Linked DNA regions of Homo sapiens: regions 1 and 2 are each linked to region 3. Evidence: promoter capture Hi-C in 16 types of primary human blood cells and fetal thymus (Javierre and others, 2016). All regions are on one chromosome and are shown on one strand. The core of a region is centred on a gene start or on the middle of the fragment in contact, and the rest is flanking DNA. Distances in the headings are between cores, read along the strand shown. Region 1 overlaps ACSL4 (acyl-CoA synthetase long chain family member 4). Region 2 overlaps ACSL4 (acyl-CoA synthetase long chain family member 4). Region 3 holds the start of GUCY2F (guanylate cyclase 2F, retinal).

Region 1 (2,756 bases), core at 123-2,622, 210 kb after region 3:
ATACACTTGATTTTTAAAAATGTAGCTTTCTAAAGCTGGGAATTGGTTGTATATAATTTAATCCAATAATTGGTTGTAAATAATCCAAAGCTTACATTTAAGGAATCTTGAGGATAAATCAGGCTAGAAGTGGCACCTACTGGCTAAGCATGATGCTATAATCAAACTTTATTAAACATAATGAAAAAGGGAGAAAAACTAAGTTCTGGGTGATATGTGTTTAGAGAGCAATACAAATGGTTCATTGCTGTAGAAGGGCAGCAGACAGCACAATGACAATGTCAATGTTGTACAACTGATGCTAAAGAGTAACTGCTGCAGGTCCCTGTACACAAAACCTTGCTGCTAAATTAAACTGCCCATTGTACCACAGTGCAGACTTTTATTTTATCTACAAAGTCTTCGATTTACTGGGTGCTTTTTCTCTGTTGGGATATATAGATGATTTTAACATAAGTTAACCAAAAATAATTGGGTTATAGAATTTAACTTTAAAGTTAACTTTTATAATAAATGTGTTTTGTTCAAGTGAAGAATATACAAAATATCTATAGGTTATACATCTATCTCCTGTCATCTTACATATTTATTATAATAAAGTAATACAACTTAGGGCTTTCAACCATGAGTGTAGGTTCCAAAAAAGTCTTTAAGCAGCAGTAGTAGTTCCCATAGGAATAGATTCATGTTACAGGGAGAATTTTACAACTATGCCTTTTTTTGCCACATGATCTGCCCTCCCCATCTGCCAGAGGAGGAACCAGCTTAATAGGTTAGTTTGTCAATGTTCTTTTCAATATGTCAGACTGTTAATAAATTATGCAACAATGCAGTCTTAAACCATTTCTTATAAAATGGCCAAATAAATGACTATAATTCAGCTGCCTGACCACCATAATACAAAATTGTATCGTGATTTAAAAAAAAAAAAACTCATTCTGCTTTTCAGTATTAAATAGATCTTAGAAGTGATTCTAATTAAATAACTCAAAGACTGATAAATCTGTTGAATATTGAAATCTTATGGCCATATAGTCAATGCTCACATATTAGCCGTAGTAAAGAACAGAAGGCCACATATTCTAAAGACAGCAGATAATTCAAAAATGCATTTTATCCTTATTAGCATTTCATTTTGAGTATGTCTGACATTTCAGAAATTAAAGAATTCCTACCTAAAGAAGGAAGTCACACAAAGCCAAATATAAGAAGCCATGGAAAAGTACCCCTGGAGTTAATATTTCCACATTAGGATTGGGAATACATTCCATTCTGTTCTCTCCCTCCACATTCATTTGTTTATCTGGCTTATGCTTCAGTAAGATGAGTAAGACAAGGTTGATAAGGGAGCTAATTATTTCCATTTTGAAACATATTTTGGGAAAGTTCAGACAAAGGCAATTGATGGGGGGCCTCCAAAGTGTCACAGAGTACTATCTGCAATCTCCTGAACACAACTGGCCAGATATGTTCATGCCAGTGCTTCTGGTAACTCCTACTCTTCACCTTGGTAGTTTTTTCCCTTCCAAATCTAGATGGGCTGCAGATTGATTGCTATAAATATGTATGTGTGTGTGTGTAGGTGTGCATCTATGAGAGAGAAAACAGTACTTTCTGTAGTTAAATTAACTATAGAAGTTTGAATACTACCACTCTTCACAGTGGCAGTATAGTCTGTCAACTTCCAAAAGGAAATAATAATTTTGCTGATATTTTAACTTCTTTGTCAGCCACTGGGTAGCGTGTAACACCTAAGTAGCTGAATTCGGTGACAGCTAATTCTGATCTGCTGATACAAATCTTTGGCCATGTTTAAGATTCTTCTAATGCAGGCTAATCAGTGGACTTCAGCATTTAGCTATACAAAAACATGGCCTTTTGAATTTCTTTATACTTGGAAATCAAAAATAGTTATTAGCACATAAGAACTACTATATCTTCAGTTTCAAATTTATAACCTATTATAATGAAAGCAATTTTCAGAAGACCAGAAGTTCTAGAGAGACAGTATCAGATATAGGGTTTTAGTCCTGGTTCACAAGCTGCTGAGTGGTAAGACCTGGAACAAATTAACCTCTCAATGTCTGTTTCCTCATCTGTAAAATGAGAAAGTTGGGTTCATATTTTAAGATATCACAAAACAGCAAAAAATGTAAAAGAAAGAATTAGTGGGGGGAAATGACACAGAGCTACCAAGTTGTTGTTGTTGTTTTGCCAGGCATGAATTTTTTTAAAGCCCTACCATTTACTATCACCATAATTTCATGAGATAAATAACATGTTTAATTCCCCTAAATTAGAAAGATATATTCTATAAGAAGCAATCCTTTAAACTGAAAATGTTTAGCTTTTAAAAACTCATGATCTGCTGTCCTTATTTTTCTCACTTCACCATGGACCAGTAAAAACGTTTTCACTAACCAGCACTGGTCTAAAAATCAACAATCGGGGACTATAGGACTAGGTAAATTTCAAAGTCCAAGCCTCAAACACTATGATTTTAATTTTAGGTGCTCTGTTGTATTTCTTTTACTCCATATTGTAGTCTAGAATAGATGCCTCAATGAAATATATACTTAAAAATTTATGAAGATCAGAAATACACGCAAATCAGTTTGAGAGACAGCCTCAATGTATACTTGCCCCGATACATTGAAGCTTATTCTTCAATAAGCTTCGGCACAAGTATACATTGTGGCTGTCTCTCAAAGAATAAGCTTCAGGCTGGTATGGTGGCTCATGCCTGTAATCCCAGC
Region 2 (2,746 bases), core at 103-2,602, 170 kb after region 3:
ATTAATTCATTCTACAGAAAATTAAGTCTCTAGACAAATATTCTTTATAAACTTTACTATATATTCAAATGCAGATAAAAAAGGGGATTGTGAATTTCATATCTTTAAATGGTATAAAAACTGATGCAATGAATATTGTATTTGAGTTATACAACTTAATACATATTGGCAAAATATAAGGAAGGACATAAAGGTAATTAATACAGTATTAATACTTTTAAATTCCATAAATTATATGCCATCAAGTTATTTATTATGACTACAAGGGTAATTCTTTAAATTATGGAGGCCTATTAACAGTAATATTAATCAACAGATGTTATGTTAATCAACATAAAATGTTATTTTATGTGATTATTTAAAACAGCAATTGCCAAGAAGCAAACATTCGCACATTTTTAAAAACTACTACAAAATAGCCTAGACGAGTTTAGAAATGATTTGGTTTCAGTGGCAAGCACAAAGAACTCACATTCACCAAAGTTCTTTTCTAGTACTAGTCTACGTTTTATGAAAGCTTGATTGAACTAGTGAGTTTCTCACTAAAATGACAGAAAAATATAAAGTTGAGTATGAAAAATAATCTTTTAAATATAAATTACAACCAACTTCCTAAAAATAATGCCTGAATGGGTCGTAAAGGAACATAAAACTTGCTTGAATTAACCAGGTCTACTCTGTTATTAAAGTACAGCTCAGTTACACAGAGTTTCATAAAATAAGCTTATCTGCTCCCAACGTCACATTTGGAACTCAAGGAAACAGTTAAATTCTCAGCTACAGATTTGGCCCCCCAATTTTTTATTTCATTTTACTTTTCTTACATACATAGGTCCTAGTCCAGAAACACTGACAAAATTGGGACAAGGCAAACACATTATTTCAGTTGCACACAAGCAAATGAAAGCAGGCTGAAAACAATCTTAGTTAAATTCCTACTTTAAAGCCAAAAAAATAAAGACTGCTATAGAAGTTTCATCTTGAAAACTCCTAAACATTATCTAATACTCCAAGCCATAGGAAGCAATGGACTATCACAGATTCCTGTAAATAGAATAAATTGCCAACAAGTGAGAAAGGTTAGGAGAAGGAAAAACAAACAAAACAAACAAAAATGTGGCATTTTTATCTGAATTAACTAGAACATTATGAAATGTGACTTGCAGGTGGCAGCAAATAGCAATTTTCATAGCCATTAGTAGTTGCTCAAATCACCCAAAAACAAGTATTTTGCATTCTTATGATACTATGTATACCTCACAATTATACTTAAAATATGAAGAGGCCTGCTATGAAAGATGTATAATTTCTGACAGATTTGCTGAATACAATCAAAACTATTTCACACTTTTTTGCATAAGTCTCTGAAATTATAATTTGCAAAATGTTGGCAAGATAAATCCTTTGTGGCACAAAAGGTTTATGATTTATACATTTAGCTCATGATTACCACTCATTATCCAAATCATGAGTTACATGCCTCACTCTAAGCACAGGAAAGTTATGAGAACCTAGTGGGTCCTAGGATTTTATTCTGCCTTCTAACAAAGTGGGATACAGTTTGACTTCCCCCATTGTTGCTTCTACACAATTAAATATGCAATGGAAAATTATTCAAGTCACATTCTAATCCATTAATATATTCAGAGGATGAATAAGAGTAACTACAGTGCACCTCTGATGATTAGCCTTTTGGTTGAAATACTATATATTTCTTGAAATACTATATTTAAAGAAAATACTATATTTGAAATGCTATACTTAAATACCTAAAGAAAATACTATATATTTTTAGAAATACTATATTGAGAGCAAATCAGGCTTTGTATCAAAAAAGGTTCTGGGAGCCTGGTTCATTAATATAAAAGTGTGTTATATCAATAATATTGTAACAAAACCACCTTGAAGAAGGAAATATTATGTCACACTATTTTTGTAAGTATAAAATACATGTCACACTGTTTTTATAGGTATAAAATAAATAAGCTTTTTCAATCTGATTATGTTAACAGGCCATTGTTATTTAAAACTTCACAGTGTCTAGAATTCAGAAAATTATTCTTGGGGAGAAATTAGTTTTCAGGTAGAAAAACTATTACTATAAACTATATTTTTAAACCAAAATGTAACCTAAGTAGTTAACATTTTTAATAAATAGAAATAATAGGAGCCCAGTTAGAGAAATAGGTATATTCATATATCTCTGATAGGAATATAAGCCGGTTCAGTTTTCCTGGGGAGAGGCAGCAATTTGGCAATGAGGAAAAAAGTCTTTAAAATATATATTCTTATGCAGCCAAAAGACACATGAAAAAATGCTCATCATCACTGGCCATCAGAGAAATGCAAATCAAAACTACAATGAGATACCATCTCACACCAGTTAGAATGGCAATCATTAAAAAGTCAGGGAACAACAGGTGCTGGAGAGGATGTGGAGAAATAGGAACACTTTTACACTGTTGGTGGGATTGTAAACTAGTTCAACCATTGTGGAAGTCCAGTGTGGCGATTCCTCAGGGATCTAGAACTAGAAGTACCATTTGACCCAGCCATCCCATTACTGGGTATATACTCAAAGGACTATAAATCATGCTGCTATAAAGACACATGCACACGTATGTTTATTGCGGCACTATTCACAACAGCAAAGACTTGGAACCAGCCCAAATGTCCAACAATGATAGACTGGATTAAGAAAATGTGGCACATATACACCATGGAATACTATGCAGCCATAAAAAAT
Region 3 (2,847 bases), core at 29-2,528:
TGGACAACCAGAAAGTTTTATGTTGCTGTAGGATTTAGTCTTGATCCCCCAACTCAAGATTTTACAGAAGGAAACTTATTCTTTAAAAAAGAAAAAAGAAAAAAAGAAGGGAAGGAAGGAAGGAAGGGAGGAAGAGAGAAGGAAGGAAAAGAGGAAGGGGGAGGAAGGGAGAGGGAAGGAGGGAAGAAGAGAAAGAAGGAAGGAAAGAAGGGGAGGGAGGAATGAAGGGAGAGAAGAAGGAAGGAAGGAAGGAAGGAAGGAAGGAAGGAAGGAAGGAAGGAAGGAAGGAAGGAAGGAAGGGAGGGAGGGAGGGAAAGAAAGGGGCAAGATAGGGGGAGGATGCCCTAAACCTCCACCTGCTGATTTTGGTTTAAGGAAAAAAATTAGCTCACTAAAGTCTTTCCTGGGGTTAATGGGAAATGTGGATATAACTAAAACAAAGTTTGAAGGTATGAAATTTTGGAAATAGAATACTACTGGCCCACAGTTGTTCTGGGGCCATTGCCTAGGTTACTCAGGTGTGAACACCTGCATGGGATCAGACTTCCATGGAAAGCGGCTAGAGCATAGGGATGCATAATTTCATTTCAGGTAGTTTTTACAATCTGATGGGAAGCCTGGCTTCACACAGAAAACCACCGTTCGTTAAACATGTACAAAGAAAGACTATGACAAATAGCTCTGAGGGAAATGGCTCCTCATACCAGCTTGTCAAGCCGAGGACTTCTATGAAAGATTGATTTGTCTTTCTAATTACAGCCTGAATCAAGTTAACAGCTTGTATAAGACAACATCAGGAAGCAATAAAAAAAGAATCATGAGAGAAACTAAACGAAAGCTTGGATGAGAGCCTTTGAGCTCAAATCTTGACTTAAAGTATCTCGAAGGCTCTCTTTAACCCTTCTTTCCTTCTTTCCTTCATTCTTTAAATTTTTTTTTTTACTACATATTGCAGTAAAACTAATGTATCTCAATCAGCGTCTCAGCTCCCAGGTGGGCTGTGTCTTTTTTCCCCCCATTACAATCTTTCTTATAAACAAGAGCTGTCAACTACTCACCAAGTAATTCACCGCTCAAATGTCTTCAGTTTACTGCCTGCGCATGCAGACCACTGGCATAGCTACCTCAGTGTGTCCATTTCTTTGCATCCTCTATGCATTCACAATCCTGTCAAGGACTCCAGTCTGTTGACAAATTCCATTAATGGGGTAAATAATTGAAAGCGTTAGTAAATGTTTTGAAAATCACTCTTCAGCATCCGCAGACCAAGACTTGGATTAGGATTTAGAGTGACACTTCTAATCCTTTAAATTGATCCCACCTGTAGCAGAGTTAGTGCTGACCTAAATGCAATGACCCAGAGATTAACAAACAAATAGAGTCCTCTGGATAAATACGTCCTCCACAGACTACTGCCTTCTTTTACCTTTCAAAGTCAGACACAAACTCTCAGATTTTGCCTCTGTGTTCTTCCTTGTTCCATTCTGTCTAATAACCACCAATCGCCCTTTCTCCAGGACAGTTCTAAATGCCAAAACATTCATCAGCTGTGATTCCAGCCCAGAATATAAAAGGTGATCCAGGCTGGCTCCCTGCAAAATTCAAAGCAGGTGAATTTTGTCTCCTTCTCCTATTCCCCTTAAGTGCCTTCACTGCCTTTCCTCCCAAGAGAGACTCCCTACTTCCCTCTACACCTTTGTACAGAGACATTGTTTCCCCATACTTTAGATGTATTCCTTTTCCTTAAGAAGTCCCTCTCTGTCCTGGGCATCATTCACTCAGGGCCCTGTTCTGGATTCCCAACGTGAGAACTGAGGTGTTAAGGGCTAAAAATGACTTATATTAAATGAGAAATGTTTTTTAATAATAGTTTTATTGAGATATAATTTATCTACCACAAAAGTATATAATTTAGGGTTTTTTTAAAGTATATTCACAAGCTTGTGCAACATTTTCATTATTCCCACAAAGAAATTCCATTCTTGTTTAAAAGTCACTCCCCATTTCTCTCCTCCTCCTAGCCCCAGGCCACCACTAATTTACTTTCTCTATGGATTTTCCTATTCTGAACATTTCATATAAATGGAATCATACAACATGTGATCTTTTGCGAGTGGCTTCTTTGTTTGAATGAAAGAAGGACATGGATGAAATTGGAAATCATCATTCTCAGTAAACTATCGCAAGAACAAAAAACCAAACACACTTTGTTTGAAAAACAAACCGTTTTCAAGGTTCATGCACGTTCTAGCCTGTACCAGTACTTCATTTCTTTTGTGGCCAAATAATATTCCACTTTTTTGGGTATACCACATGATCAGTTGATGGAAATTTAGGTTGTTTCCACCTTGGGCTATTATGAATACTGCTTTTATTACTTTTGTGTAAAAGTTTTTATATGGACATATTGTTTTTATTTCTCTTTGGCATATACCCAGGGAATTGCTGGGTCATATAATAACTCTATGTTTAACATTTTTTGAATTGGCAAACTGTTTTCCAAAGTATATGCACCATTTGGCATTCCCACCAGCAACATATGAGGGTTCTTTTTTGCCTACATTCTTACCAACACTTGTTACTATCTATCAGTTTTTTATTTAAGTATGACAGGCATTTTATATGTACATTATACTTATATGTACATCTTTATGTTCACAACAACCATGAAGGTGGATATTACCCATTCTTTCCATTTTGTAAATGAGGATGCCAAGACTGAGATAAATTAGGCAATAATCATACTTACTGAGTGCCAATGATGTGACAGGCATTTTTGGAAGCCCTGTCTCCTTAGATCTTCACAGTGACCCCACGAGATAGATACTATTTGAATTCCCAGACATC

What was found. The method cuts DNA at HindIII sites, captures the fragments that hold promoters and counts their contacts. A CHiCAGO score of 5 or more calls a contact.
Region 1: a contact is called between a fragment that was not itself captured here and the fragment with the promoter of GUCY2F in region 3, in 1 of 17 cell types (monocytes). The highest score is 5.6, in monocytes.
Region 2: a contact is called between a fragment that was not itself captured here and the fragment with the promoter of GUCY2F in region 3, in 2 of 17 cell types (total B cells and naive B cells). The highest score is 5.4, in total B cells.

The regions. Positions count from the first base shown.
Region 1 is chrX:109,692,344-109,695,099 of GRCh38, forward strand. All of the region lies in intron 2 of ACSL4 (acyl-CoA synthetase long chain family member 4), which reads right to left. Among named protein-coding and RNA genes, the nearest start is that of ACSL4, 40 kb to the right of the region's middle. The HindIII fragment of the contact is 2,568 bases long and covers 89-2,656 here.
Region 2 is chrX:109,650,888-109,653,633 of GRCh38, forward strand. The region is part of intron 15 of ACSL4 (acyl-CoA synthetase long chain family member 4); the gene reads right to left. Among named protein-coding and RNA genes, the nearest start is that of KCNE5, 27 kb to the left of the region's middle. The HindIII fragment of the contact is 1,263 bases long and covers 722-1,984 here.
Region 3 is chrX:109,480,808-109,483,654 of GRCh38, forward strand. GUCY2F (guanylate cyclase 2F, retinal) reads right to left here and starts at 1,279. Exons shown (of 20, transcript NM_001522.3): 1 at 1,059-1,279. The HindIII fragment of the contact is 1,102 bases long and covers 837-1,938 here.